2 separate regions of the Homo sapiens genome follow, and region 1 is linked to region 2. The links are contacts of gene promoters, found by promoter capture Hi-C in human tissues and cell types (Jung and others, 2019). All regions are on one chromosome and are shown on one strand. The core of a region is centred on a gene start or on the middle of the fragment in contact, and the rest is flanking DNA. Distances in the headings are between cores, read along the strand shown. Region 1 holds the start of RECQL4 (RecQ like helicase 4). Region 2 holds the start of ZNF7 (zinc finger protein 7).

The links. The method cuts DNA at HindIII sites, captures the fragments that hold promoters and counts their contacts. A contact is called where the count stands out against the background at its distance.
Region 1: the fragment with the promoter of RECQL4 here is called in contact with the fragment with the promoter of ZNF7 in region 2 in 1 of the 25 tissues and cell types used here (dorsolateral prefrontal cortex).

What each region holds. Positions count from the first base shown.
Region 1 is chr8:144,516,512-144,520,693 of GRCh38, forward strand. RECQL4 (RecQ like helicase 4) reads right to left here and starts at 1,322. Exons shown (of 21, transcript NM_004260.4): 1 at 1,190-1,322; 2 at 1,091-1,124; 3 at 903-997; 4 at 539-679; 5 at 1-253. The coding sequence starts at 1,273. LRRC14 (leucine rich repeat containing 14) reads left to right here and starts at 1,481. Exons shown (of 4, transcript NM_014665.4): 1 at 1,481-1,530; 2 at 3,104-3,543; 3 at 3,727-4,182. The coding sequence starts at 3,215. RefSeq lists silencers at 927-1,676, 1,767-1,936 and an enhancer at 4,160-4,182. The HindIII fragment of the contact is 29,803 bases long and covers 1-4,182 here.
Region 2 is chr8:144,825,145-144,829,140 of GRCh38, forward strand. It overlaps ZNF7 (zinc finger protein 7), which reads left to right and starts at 2,416. Exons shown (of 5, transcript NM_003416.4): 1 at 2,416-2,465; 2 at 3,899-3,946. The coding sequence starts at 3,944. LOC100130027 (a long non-coding RNA gene) reads right to left here and starts at 1,896. Exons shown (of 5, transcript NR_147501.1): 1 at 169-1,896. RefSeq lists a silencer at 1,607-2,736 and enhancers at 2,068-2,593, 2,594-3,119, 3,120-3,645. The HindIII fragment of the contact is 13,991 bases long and covers 1-3,996 here.

The DNA of each region.
Region 1 (4,182 bases), core at 72-2,571, 310 kb before region 2:
CCAGAAAATCTGGGACCTCACTGTGACATCGCTGTAACCAGCCAGGATCTAGGGAGCCCAGCCGCTGGCTCAGGGATGCCTGCAGATGCTGGAGCCGGCCTGGCCTTGGCTGGGGCTCAGGGAGCTGTGGAGGCTCATCACTGACTTTTTCTGCAAAGGAGGGGACAGGCCCTGTACCTGGGGGCTTTGGGGTGGATGCCTTAGATGAGGCTCTTCCTAGAGGCCACGGTCTGCGGCCCAGGGCTGGTCCGGCCTGGGAGGGGAACAACAGAACAGCAGGAGGAACTCAGGCCCCTGAGCTACTGTAGACTCTAAAACCTACCTGAGTCCCCACGCTCAATTGTAGAGCAGGCTAATTAGCACAAGGCTGGACTAGAAAGGGAGTCAAGGGCGAAGGCCCCGAGAAGCTCCCTGAAGACTCGTGCCCTGGTTGGCACAGGGGCCCGTGCCTGTCTGTGTGGAAAAAATGACAAGAGGGCGACCCGGACCGGAAGCAGCTGTGGACCTAGCGTGGACTCACTGCCTGCCCACTCCTCACCTGCAGGGTGCCTTTCAGATTGGCCTTGAGCCGCTGCCCGTAGTCCGGCACCGAGCCCTGGCGGCTCCGCCCTGGCGTAGACTGTGGACTCTTGGTCGCAGCCCGATTCAGATGGGGCCCCCAGCAGCGGGGCTCTGGCGCCTGCAGGAGACAACAGGGGCACAGGCCAGAAAAGGCTGTTGTGGCGGCAGAAGCGCTCCCAGCCACCCCTCCCGCACCTGGAGCGAGGCCCGGCCCTTCTTCACTTTGCCCAGTCCCCCTCCCAAGTTCTGTGCCCCACGGCGGCCTGGCCGCGACTCCGTGGCTCCCGCCACTCCGCCAAACAGGGAAGTGGGAGGAGGCTGGGGCGGCGGGGCCTGGGTACCTCTTCGGCCGCCGCGGGGAGCGACTCGGAGCTGCGGAGCCCGCCGCCGGCCTGGCCCGTGGTACGCTTCAGAGTGCGGTATTCCCGGTAGAGCGCTGCGTGGGCGAGCGGGAGGCGGGGTCAGGGTGGGGCCTGGGCCCCTGCCGACCCGGTGTCTTCTCGCCCCCGCCGCCCCGCCGCGCGCTCACCGCGGGTCTCCTCCGGCGCCGCCTCCACGTCGTCCTGTAAAGGGAACGCGTCAGCCGCGGGCCGCGCCCTCAGCCCCTCGGCCCCTGGGCAGCCCGCACCTGGCTCGGTCGCCGCCCGCGCTGCCGTCGGAACGCGCGCTCCCACGCCTGCAGCCGCTCCCGCACGTCCCGCAGCCGCTCCATGGCGCGCGCGCCCGCCCGGCCTCCGCGCTTGCGATCGTCCAGCGAATCTCCCGCGCAGCCGTCGCGGGGGCCGACAGCCAATGCGGATGCGCGGCGGGCCGGGGGCGGGGCCACCGCCCCTGGGCAGCCAGTCCGTCGGGCCTCGGACAAGCAGCCAATGGGAGGCGTCAACGTCATCGCGGGGCGCCGCGGCGCCGGGCGGGGAGCGGCGGACGGTCTAGGCGGGGCTGGAGGCGGTGGCTGCGGTTGCGGGACCGGTGAGCGCGGGCGGCCGGGGGGGTGTCTGAGCGGGGCGGCGCACGCCCCTGGCCCTGCCTGGCCTCAAGGGGCGGGGCACCGGTCGCTCGGGGCGGCCTGGCCGAGGGAGGCAGTGGCTGCATTTGGGAGCCCGGGGCCGAGGCCGGGAGCCTGGGAGGTGCCACCGCGGGCCGGGAAGGACTGGGAGTCCCCGGGCCGGTCGGAGCGGCGTCAGGCCCTGGTGGGAGACGCATCCGACCTGGAGGAGCAGGCCCCGCTCGGGAGGCGAAAGAGCGGAGGGTCCAGCGCCTCCCGCGGCTCGAGGCCCGGAGGAGCCGGGCGGGGGCGTCTTCGCGAAACGCAGGCGACCGAGGACCGTCGCGTTCCCTGCGGCCGGCGGGAGGGGAGGGGGCGTCGCACGGAGGTGCCTGCCTCCCTTGGTGGGCAGGCCGTCTGCTTTGGTGTTCTCCCGTGACAAGTGCTCGGTTGGTCTGTCCTGTCAGAGCGAGTATGATCGTTGAGATCTGTCCACCGGCAGAACTAGGCCGAGGGTTGGTGTCTGGGACTTTTCAGGAACCGGTGCCTTAAGGACTTACTTGTATGTGGAAAAGTCGACAAAAAGAAGGGCCTTGGGGCCAGAGTGTCTTCCCCGGCCCCCTTCCCTGGCTTGTCACTCAGGCTGTGACCTTGGGCCAGGCCGAGGCCTTCATTTTCTAATCTGTCACAGGGAGATGGCTGCGATTTAGTTTTGAGGATGCTACAGGCAGCAGCAGGGCTGGCACCCTGTGTCACAGGTACCTTGTGGCCTTGGGAGTGTTTGTGCATCTCTGCAGCTTGGGTGCTGCTGAGGCAGCTTTCTTTGCCTTGTCTGAGCAGTCTGTAGCTTTGCACCTTCTGAATCCCACATACTTAAGACTTGGTCTTTCCACAGTGGCTCTCCAGGGAAGAGGGAGAGGTTTAGGCCAGTGGTAAGGGCCAACAAAGGTGAGGGTTGCTTTCTTTCGGGGTCTCCGTGCTTGGTGACGCTCTGGAGAATAGTAGCTTTTGCGGGGGCTTGTATTTTATAGGCTACATCATCTGGACTCGGTGTTCCCTGGGTCTCGGTCTTTTCAACCTGCCTTGTTGCTTATGAAGCTGCTTCTGTGCTTCCAGCTCTTTGGTGTTTTGTGGAGTCCAAGTGTAGCCCTGGAGAGCATCTGTGAGGAGAGGGGAGGGAAAGGTGATTTGGCTGCTTGACTCCTTAGAGTGTCCCGTCAATACTAATGCTGATGAAGGTTGGTGGGGAGAGTCCTGGGCTTTATTCAGGTTTCGAAGAAGGTTTTGTGAAGCAGCTTTGTAATTTGAGAGGCCTGAAGTACCCATGGGGGGCCCTGCAAGGCAACAGGCATCTGTCAAAAGCATACCCAAGCAAGCGAGTTGTTGACGATGCCACACTGCTTGACGCTTAGTTTCTCTAAAGAGATCCTGTGCATCTGGAGGGCTGGGGCTGAGTTGTGAGTTTGTCTGCCAGTTCACTGCACCCAGCCCAGCGCTAGGCATCTAATAGGTGCTTCTCTGTGCCATGGCCACTGCTAACTGCTGACTTTGTTTCAGGCACTATGCTGGGCCTTCCTACCACTTGTGTGTGGCTTGGTAGTGGCCTAGGGTCTCTCCTCCCTGCTGAAGTCCCTCTCCTGCAGGTGGCCGTCTGCCCGGCCCAGCACCATGCACACGCTTGTGTTCTTGAGCACACGGCAGGTGCTGCAGTGCCAGCCAGCTGCCTGCCAGGCCCTGCCCTTGCTGCCACGCGAACTCTTCCCCCTGCTGTTCAAGGTGGCCTTCATGGACAAGAAGACAGTGGTACTGCGCGAGTTGGTACACACGTGGCCCTTCCCGCTGCTCAGTTTCCAGCAGCTGCTACAGGAGTGTGCCCACTGCAGCCGTGCCCTCCTGCAGGAGCGGCCTAGCACTGAGAGCATGCAGGCTGTTATCCTGGGGCTGACTGCCCGGCTCCACACCTCAGAGCCTGGGGCCAGCACACAGCCCCTCTGCAGGTATGGACTTATCTGGAGGGTCGTCAGGCCAGGGGTGTGTAAGTGGGTCCCCTGAGGAGGCTTGGGTCATAAAGTTAGCAAGAGCTCATGCAGGAGCAGGCGCGTTGCTCCTGTCCCAAGGTGGCTGGGAGGGGGTATGGGCGCTGCCCCTCCACCCCTTCCTCACACCATTCCTACTCCCAGGAAGCATGCGCTGCGGGTGCTGGACATGACGGGCCTCTTGGATGATGGTGTGGAACAGGATCCTGGCACCATGAGCATGTGGGACTGTACTGCTGCCGTAGCTCGCACATGCATTGCCCAGCAGCAGGGTGGGGCCGCAGAGCCTGGGCCAGCCCCCATCCCCGTGGAGGTGCGCGTGGACCTGCGGGTGAACCGGGCCTCCTATGCGTTCCTGCGGGAGGCACTCCGAAGCAGCGTGGGCAGCCCGCTGCGGCTCTGCTGCCGGGACCTGCGAGCTGAGGACCTGCCCATGCGCAACACTGTGGCCCTGCTGCAGCTTCTGGATGCAGGCTGCCTGCGCCGCGTGGACCTGCGCTTCAACAATCTGGGCCTGCGCGGCCTGTCTGTGATCATCCCACACGTGGCCCGCTTCCAGCACCTGGCCAGCCTGCGGCTCCACTATGTGCATGGGGATTC
Region 2 (3,996 bases), core at 1,166-3,665:
GGAGAATCGCTTGAACCCGGGAGCAGAGGTTGCAGTGAGCTGAGACTGTCATTGCACTCCAGCCTGGGCAACAAAAGTGAAACTCTGCCTTAAAAAACAAACAAACAAACAAAAAACAAATCCAGGATACATTTGAACTCACCTTGAGATGTGGGTGTCTGCACTCACCTTGAGATGTGGGTGTCTGCAGATGGCAAGGGACCTGTGGAGGGGCTCTGTGGATTGGAAGCACCATTGCTCTGGGCTGTCCACTCGGATACGGAGAGTGCTGTTGGAAATGCAGCACCTTGAAAGTGTCTTTGTAGTTGAGATTTTTTCCTGGAAACATTTACAGCTTGGAACTGTTCTATCTGGCCAAATATGAGGAGGCTAGAGTTGCCCCAAAAGTGGCAGCAAGGGAGTTGCCTCAAAAGACTTCCCCAAACAGTCCCGCGATGGAATTGGTTGGGATTCCAAGGAAAGAAGCTCTAAACGCCAGGGTGATCAGTCCAGAGCATTTCTTCCGGAAATTTTCACATGGAGCTTCAGCTTTCTTGGGATCGATGATGAGGCAAGGGATGCTCCACCCAGGTACATTTGCAGCAAGGGACTCTGGCTATGGAGCTTAGATGAGAGTTTAAGGGATTGGACTCAGGGCAGGGCCAGTTTCTACGTGTTTAGCAATAGGGTTGATTGTGTTTTCAAGCAACCTAAACAGCTTTATCAGGGAATGTGCCCGGCCCCATTGAACTGGGTTCAAGGCTGCAGGGAACACGCAATGGCCAGGTCCCAGAGCAATCAAAGGACTCTGTGTTTCTCAATCAGTAGAGAAAGAAAAGGGGGAACTGGAAGACCCTGTGAATCCCAATCTCAGCTAGGGATGAGCAATCCAGGCTGGCCCAGAGCATAAGCACCGTGACCATGTGAGGGCCTGAGTGTGCCTGGCTTTGGAGGGTCTGCTTGCTCAGTGGCCTCTAGACTCAGCCGGGCAGTGGATGCAGTGGATGGAGGAAGCCCCCTCGCCCCAGACAGGACCTCAGGGCCTCAGAGCCCTGGCATCTGCACCCTGGACACAAGGAAGGTGCCTATGAGGTGGATGCTCTAGCCAGGCTTTCTCCCCCTCCTGCTCCTGTGTTACCCTGGTGTGCCCCCCTCACCTGCAGCAGGCCAGGTTGGGGCATAGGGTTGCCGGCCCCTACCAGCCCTGGGGGTCTGGAGGGCGGCTGGGGAAGCAGACCCCCTGTCCTTCCCTATCCTTCGCGACATGCTCCCTGAGCAGCTGCAGTCCACTTAGATGACCAGAGAGGATGTGGGGCTGAGGGAGCCGAACTCGGGGCAGCAGGGGCGGGGGTGGGAGTGCCGGGATCATCCGCACCGGGAGAGGCGAGGCCGGCGTCTGTTTTTCACCTGGGCCTCCCTGGGGGGCTGGGGGCTGCCTGACTCTTCCCTCCTTTGGTTTGCGCAAGTTTTCCCGCGCGGGTTCGGATCAACACGCCGGGGGAGCCCGGCTTACGTCCCTCCTGGACCCCCGCCCCGTTCTTCCCGTGGGGAGGGGCGCGTCAGGCGGACCTGGCACCCTCCGGCTGCTGGGCTTCGCCGGGAGCCACGCGGGGAGGTCCAGGCAGTCGGGACGCAGGCAGCGTCCTCGCCGAGGCTGCGAGTCCGTGGCCGTCCGGGGGAGGCGCGCAGGCTCTGCCGGACGCAGAAGGAACCCGAAGGAGGCGGGGTGGAGGGCGGTGCGGGGCCGGGGAGGGGCGAGGCGAGTGGCGAGTGGACGCCGGGCCCGGCCTCGGGCAACTCCGAGGGGCGCCCTTCCTCGGGGTCCCGGAGGCTCTGCGACCCCGCGGCCGCTCCAGCCGCTCACTGGGGACAAGGCCCGAGCCAGGCGTCTCCGCGAGGCGGGGTCCATAGCGCGCCCAGCAGGCGCCTCCTGTCGCAGGGACGCGGGGGAGCGGCGCCTGAACAGCCTCGGTGGGAACCAGCGCCCGAAGCTGGTGATCCGGGGTGCGCAGGGCCCAACCGGGCGATCCCCTGGATCTCCGCCAGCCTCGCCCCGACTCCGCTCCTCCCACCCGCCAGCGAGTCCGCAACTCCCGGCCCCGGCCCGCGTCCCCAGCTCCAGGCCCCGGCCCCGCCCCGCCCCTGCTCAGGCACCGCCCACTCCGGGCTCTGGGCCCTCCTCTCCCTCGCGGCTCCGCCCCCTGCCCGCCTCTGACTGTACCCCGCCCCCAGGCGCCAGCCCCGCCTATCTGGGCTTCTGGTCCCGCCCAGGTTCTTGTCCCTCGGGCCCCAGCCTCGCCCCTCCTCGGCTCTGACTCCACCCCTTCTCCGGAGCCTGGGAGGCGGGGCTGAGAACCACAGAGATGGCCGGGCCTCCGAGCGGCCCAGGGCGGCCGGAAGTTTGCGGGGCGGGGCGGACGCGGGTGGCCAAGGCCCGTTTCCGGCGGCGTCGCGCGTTTGCGAGCCTCGGGTGGTCCTCAGGGAGGGTGAGTCGGCGCGGCGGGCGCGGACTCGGGTTGCCCTCGGTCCGAGTGATCCCTGGTCGCTTCCTTAGCCCTCCCGCCTTCGGCATTGGGGTCCCCGCGTCCCCCGGGCCTCCAGGCGGGAAAGCGCGGGGGCTTTGCGGGGCCTTGAGCGCCTGGTGTGGGAGGTGGTCGAGCCCAGCCACCCTCCCCCGCGGCGGCGCGAGGTGGGCTTCGTTTGGCCGAGTCTCGCAGCTCCCCGCAGACCCCGCTCGTGGCGGCCACGGTGTCCGGGGCCTGAGTAAGGCGAGCTCCAGCTGCGGCCTTTTCTTCAGGCCTGGGTCTACTCCCGGGGCCCTGACTCCTCCTGCGAAATCACCTCCTTCTAGAGCCTTTTCTCTTTCTATTTATTGCCCCGGAAGGCCTAGGATAAGTGACAGTGGAGGAAGGAACGGTGCCTTGGGTGGGGTAGGCTGTTTGTCTTCTCTAAATTCTGGTTGCTATTCCGGGCATTCCTACTGTCAGGAGCCAGGTGGGGGGATCAGCCTACCTGTGCCGGTGACCTGGGGCTTCCACCCACAAACCACTTTCTGGGCCAGAAGCTGCCATACGAAGACTCTTTTTCCCATTCCGACCTCCCGGGGGAATGCCTGGGCAGGTAGAGGGTCTGGGGTCATTGGCTTAATTGAGGTGAACGATTTATATCAGATTACATCCCTGTGCCTGGTTCCATCCTGGCGACAGGTGAGCTGGAGACTGGAATTTATGTACTTGAGGGCAGGGGTTTCCATGTCCACTCTTGTCTTCCCTACAGTTTGTCATTTTTGCTCCTGCCTTCTCCAACCTCCAGTCGCTCACTGCCTTCCCCAACCTCCAGTCGCTCACTGCCTTCCCTTGCTGCCGGGAATTTACCCACACTGGTTCATCCAACCCCATTTCTTCTTGCTTCAGGCCCTTTCACATGCTATTCCTGCTGCCTGGAGTGCTCTCTCCACCTCCATTACCTTGGCCGAGGTCCCTGGGGAAGTGACCCATTACACTGAACGTTCTAGTCTAAGTGGCTTTCATAGTTCCCTGTACTTGAGCGCTGTCGTGGTTGCAGTGTGCTTATTTGTGTGGTTATTTAACTCTTTCCTCCGCCAGACTGCTTCGTGAAGGCAGGGTCCTCGTGTCCACTACTGTATCCCCATTACTCAGTGCCTGGCACGTGGCATCCACTTCTTACGGCTTTGTGGAGTGAGTCACACATGCCACACACACATACACTCTAAAGAGGAACAAGAGTTCAGTGGGCCTCCTTCACTCAAGTGCCATGGCTGCTTCAGCCCAGCCCCATGTCCCTGCTAGAGAAATCTGGGGCTGGAGGTAAAGGAGCAGAGAGCACAGTACCCCCTTGATTAGCCTGGAAGTTGGGCTTCTGGCACCTTGACCTCTAATCCTTTCATAATTGCCAACAGGTCTCTCGGCCAGAACACGTGGATGCCCACCCACCACTGAGCCTCATGGTAGGAAGCTTGACTGCCTCCTTCCCCTCGCATGTCCTGTGAAGGCCCAC